Regions from separate parts of the Homo sapiens genome. Here region 2 is linked to region 1. Evidence: promoter capture Hi-C in human tissues and cell types (Jung and others, 2019). All regions are on one chromosome and are shown on one strand. Each heading gives the region's core, a stretch centred on a gene start or on the middle of the fragment in contact. The rest is flanking DNA. Distances are from core to core; before and after follow the strand shown.

Evidence for each region. The method cuts DNA at HindIII sites, captures the fragments that hold promoters and counts their contacts. A contact is called where the count stands out against the background at its distance.
Region 2: a contact is called between a fragment that was not itself captured here and the fragment with the promoter of EDNRA in region 1, in 1 of the 25 tissues and cell types used here (hippocampus).

What each region holds. Positions count from the first base shown.
Region 1 is chr4:147,479,783-147,482,471 of GRCh38, reverse strand. EDNRA (endothelin receptor type A) reads right to left here and starts at 1,375. Exons shown (of 8, transcript NM_001957.4): 1 at 1,096-1,375. RefSeq lists enhancers at 476-555, 586-685. The HindIII fragment of the contact is 3,954 bases long and covers 1-2,689 here.
Region 2 is chr4:147,524,945-147,527,633 of GRCh38, reverse strand. All of the region lies in intron 3 of EDNRA (endothelin receptor type A), which reads right to left. LOC124900795 (a long non-coding RNA gene) reads left to right here. Exons shown (of 2, transcript XR_007058311.1): 2 at 1,102-2,504. Among named protein-coding and RNA genes, the nearest start is that of LINC02507, 43 kb to the left of the region's middle. The HindIII fragment of the contact is 3,028 bases long and covers 1-2,689 here.

The DNA.
Region 1 (2,689 bases), core at 126-2,625:
ATCAGTCATAGCGCTAGTGAAGCATCTCAGGTTCAGACCTGAAGGACATGGTCTATAGATTCAGCATTCTTCCTGTTTGGAATCTGAGAGTTTGGGGAGTGCAAAAACTATTATTAAGAAAGAGGACTGAATCCTTACGCTTACACTTTAACCATTTAACATATGAGACTCTCAGGATCAAAGTTCACCTGTAATTGGTAATTTGGAAATTCAGACCTTATCAAAATGGCATGAGTTTAGAGCATTCAATTTACATGAAATGACTGCCAAGGTGTTTCTCAATTAGCTAACACATAGACAACTACAGGTGGAGGAAAAAACAAGTAAAAGTAGGAACTTTTTACAAGTTTTCTGAGGTTTTGCTCTCTGGTTAAGAAATGAGCAACTCTCCTTAGAGACAACGCCTGAGTTTAATATGCCTCCCACCCCCAACTCTATCAGGGGAAAGCCATTAGGATGATGTAAACAGAGGGTGATTATCTAGAAGCAGCCCTTGTTTTCTGCACGTGAGAAGCAACAAGTGTCCTTTAAAGGCGAGCACAGAACAAAACGCCCAGACCTCCACAGGCAGGTTTCCAAAACTAGCTACACAGGGGGTTTCCCCAAACACCTCAGTCCCTCACACCGAGTGCCCTTGGCTACCCTTGGCATACCCAGACCCAGATGTGGGGGAGGAAAAGCAAGCCAGTAAGAAAAGGCTGTGGAGCCAACTTCACAAGAAGGCGCTGGAGCAAGCCACAGAGCTTGGCGTTCCTCAAAGTTCTTGCATGCCTGGGGAAAAGGGGTCACCCAGGGAAAACTATTGGGCTTCCTCTTCCTAAAACTCCGAATCCTAAACCCTAACGTGGAGAGGTGAAGTTCCCCGAACTCTACACGTGTCCGCAGCGCACCCCTCACGGAAGGCGCCCGCCTCCCCGCGCGCCCTGGGGCAAGTGGGTGCCAGCCCCTGCTGCGACGGGTCGCCCAAGCTGCAGGGCGGTCGGGCCAGAACGTTCCCAGCTCTCGTCTTCTCCCGACCGAGGGGCCCAGGCAGCGTCTCCGCCATCCCCGCACCCGCCCCAGTCCCAGTCCCCGATAAGAAAGACTTGCACCGACCGTGGAGCTCGGCGTGCGCAGACAGCTGCCGGGTCCGCGCGGCGCCTGGGCCAGAGGAAGCCGGAGCCGGCGAGGGTGGGTGGCGCGGAGGGTGGCCGGTGTCCCGGGCTCCGGCGCGGCGGCGGCTTCGGCTGCACAGCTTCCCCGGCTTCAGAAAACCTCCTGGGCACTGCTTCTCCCGGGGAGGTCTCGCTGGGACCCCAATCCCCGGCGACGACCGGGTGGGATGGATGAAGCCTCTCCACCGCCTCTCCACAATCGTCAGACCAGCGGGATGACTGTACGCGCGCGCGAGGGCTCGCACGAAAAAGAAAACTCCGGAGGAACACGCCTCCAGTCTGTCCTCCCCGTCTCCTCCCAAAGCTCCAGACCTTCCACTCCACTCTGGGACCGCAAGAGCGTCCTAACCTTCCAGCTATCCTGGGACGCGGCCACTAAAAAGCACAAAGCTGCCGCCCCCTTCCAGGCCCTGAAGGGCAGGAGTCTTTTTTAACTATTTCCTTCCTGAAAGAAAAGGTGGGGGATGTGGAGGAGAGAGGGTAGAGTTTGACAGACAAGACTCAGAATTCCGAAAGGCCTTGCAGAGGAACCCATCCTCTTAGTGCAGGCAGATTTGATCTGTGACGGAACAACTGGACACAGAGCCAGGGCCCACGGGTGGTTTCTTCTCCGTCTTCCCTGCCGCCTTTGCTTGGCTTGCGTGCTCCCTCTTAAGCTTAGAGGCCGTTGAGGAGCCGAAGTGGACAGCAGTTTACTGGATCAGGTGGTTTGCTTCTATCTTGTCCCTTGTAGCCAGCATCCCACGGCTACAGACCTCCAGCCCAGGGCAAAGAAGGAGCCTCAGGAGAGACTATGGAAGGTTCCAGCGCGTGGCTCCGTGAAACCTCAAGAAATTCAAACAATGAAGAAGCCGACCTTACAGAAAGTGGGTCTCAACGTCTTTATCACGGCAGATACTTTATCCTAAATTGGGGGTGGGAGAGGAGATGAGGGACAAAGGCCACTGCCTGTGACATGTGAGTAAAAACTGGGGTCTCCTCAGGGAAGGCCTGCCTTGGAGTCCTTCAGTGCACTGCTAGAGTCAGCACATGGTAGAAGTGTGAGGTTGGAGCACTGGTCATGTTATATCCCATGCTGTTCCGGCTATCTGCTGCAGCTAAACAAATTACTATAAAACGTAGTGGCTTAAAATAACAACACTCATTTACTCTGCTTATCAGTCTGCAGTTTGGGCAGAGCCTGTCTGGGACAGCTCGTTTTTGCTCCATGTAGCAGGGGCTGGAGGATCCACTTCCAAGACAGTTCACTTGCTTGGTGTTGAGTGTTAGTTTTTCTCCACGTGCGTCTCTCCACAAAGACTTGTGGAGACTTGTGGTTTGGGCTTCCTCACAGCATGGTGGCGGGGATCCAAGAGTGAATGTCCCCAGAGACAGAAAGTGGAAGCTGCCAGTTTCTTAAGGGCTGGGCCCAGAAACTGGCACCGTGTCATTTCTGCTTGATTCTATTAGTCAAGCAGTCACAAATCCCAGATTGAAGGTGAGGGTATATAGAGCCCAACCCTTAGTGTGAGGAGTGTCAAAGAATTTAGGGACCA
Region 2 (2,689 bases), core at 96-2,595, 45 kb before region 1:
GGGATAGTCATTAAGTTTAAAAATGTTTATTCTTGAAAGAACTTTAAAACATTATAAAATAAAACAAATTAAAAAGATACCACTTCAACAAAATCTATTTTTTTATTCTTTTCTTGTTTTGATTCTCACAGGCATAGTTTGAATAGACTATAATCATATGACTCACAATTTTTAAATTTTAGCTTTATTTACATTAAAAATACTCTCCTATGTTTCTACACGGGCGTGGCCCTTATCAATTTAATGGCTACACAGTATAACAAGATTTTGATATAATTTACTTGAATTTTTTTTCTATGTTCACATCATTTCTAGTGTTTCACAGCTGTGAATAAGACGCCTATAAGCTTGTTTGTACACATAATTTTTTTTCTCTTTCTGAATGATTTTTCTGGATTAATTATCTTGAGTGGGATTACTGGATCAGGGAATAAATAGGTGGCTGAAGTGCCTTAAGAAAGAAGTTTCTACCAAGTGCCTGTTAATGAATGCTTGCCTGTGTTAGAATTTATTATTTATTCTTATTTACCACTTCCATAAGGTACAGTGCCGCCCCTATCTTTACCTCTGCACATCTTTAATTAACAGCAAACTTGATCATTTGTAATGGTTGTTAATGATTTATATCTCTCATACCATATGGAGGTTTGGAAGCTAAATGCTAGCAGGAAGAATTCTTTTTTAGAGATAGGGTCTTACTCTGTCATCCAGGCTGAAGTGCAGTGGCACAATCATAGCTGTAGCCTCCAGAACCTGTACTCCCTTAAGGGATCCTCCTATCTCAGGCTCCCTAGTAGCTGGGACTATTGGTGCCCACCACCATGACAGGCTAATTTTTAAAAATATTTTTTGTAGAGACAAGGATCTCGCTATGTTGCCCAGGGTAGTCTTGAATTCCTGACTTCAAGCCATCCTCCTGCTTCGGCCTCCTAAGGCTGAGCCACTGCAACTGCTTGGCCAATTCCAATTTAGAAGAGAATCAGGTGTGGTGAATTAAAAGACAGCTGCAAATGCTTTACCACTTCTTCAGTTGAGTTCTTAAATTGAGCTGGCCTGTGACTACTTTGATCAATTGAGTGTGGCTAGAATGATGTTTTGCAGTTCCAGGTCTGGCCTCTGAAAGGAGCCTTGAGCCTGCTGGAGCAAAAACAGAGAGGACCCTGAGACTACATGGAGGGGGAGATGGGCTCTGCTGAGCTCAGACATCCAGCTGTCCCTGCCAAGGTGCCAGGCATGTGAGTGTTGGACCTCTGACACAAGCTCAGAGTCAGCTGAAGTCCACCAACCCCAGGTGACGTGACAAGGAGCAGAAGAATTGCCCAAATTCCTGACCTTCAACATGGTGAGATATGATAAAACGGTTGTTGTTCTGAATTGCTAAGTTTTGGGGTAGTTATCAAAGAGAAGTGGGGTAGCAAAATTAACCAGTTGCCTGATCTTGACAATAGAATAAGATAAAAGAACAAATAACTCAGTACGATAGTGAACAGACTCCCAAATAAGATCCTATTGCCCTAGCCAGCCTTGGACTTTGTCCAGTTCCCTGCTCATGTCTTCTGGCTCAGACCCTTCCTCTGTGTCTTCACTATTGTCATGGTGCAATAGAAAACCATAACACCAGGAAAATAAGGAGAAACCAAGTCCAACTCTAACAAAGAGGTTTTTCTGAAAACCACCTTCATGTTTCTTGAGTTAGGATATACCTTTGAGAATATCACAGAGACCACTGATCAATTATTTGAAATGATGGGTTCAAGAACTGACATCAGCTTTTCAGCCATATAAAACAAAGCTGCCTCATTAATGGATCTTTGCAACTTTTCCAAGTATCTAATAACACATCACTCTGGAATAGTTGTTAAAAGAGTTTTATCTTTTTATAGCCTTCTTCCCCAGGCAACTTTTAACAAGTTGGATCTGTACCCAGACCTTTTTACTGGTCTGACCCCATCATCATCATCTTCCACTTTAACACGATTTTGCAAAGATCAACAGTGATCCCTCCTACCCCTCTCCTGCTGCTGCTTTTTTTTTTTTTGCCTCCAAACAAACTCAAAGTAATATATAAAACTTGTCACTTTCAGCATGTAAAAATAACTATTTTAATAGCTGGTAATGGCTGGTTATTCATTTTTGTTGGGAAAAGTTTATTCATTATAGAAGTATACTGCCTTAGAATTAAAAAGATAATTCAACAAGAAAGCTGGATAGGGGTCAAAATTTGTTTCTGAATTTCTTCAGTTCCTGATTTGTCTTTTTCTCAAATGACCAAGGATGTGAAACTAGATTTGCGGAGGAATTATTCAAAAGGTTAAACTGAGACAAGTCCATAGTTGAAATTAGCAATGAAAGCCTATCCATTCTGGCAGAAATCATGTGCTTTCTCTCAGTCCTGTTTAGCTTATTCAGATTAAAAGCTGATAGTGAGAAAGCTAGATATTTTCTTTGATCTTACATCATTCTGTAATCATTGATTGACGAAGTAATAAAGAAATCCTATAGAACTTGGATGTAAGGTTTCTCTCATTTTCTTTCAAACAACTCTGAAATGTGAGATAATTATGTTTTTAAAATACTGTGTAAAAAAATCATGGGAACTCTTTGTCCTGGGCCATAATTTATTCAGCTCATAAAATGAAAGCAGGGATTCACAAACTGCAACAGGTTCCAAACTCCCTTTTCATTCCTT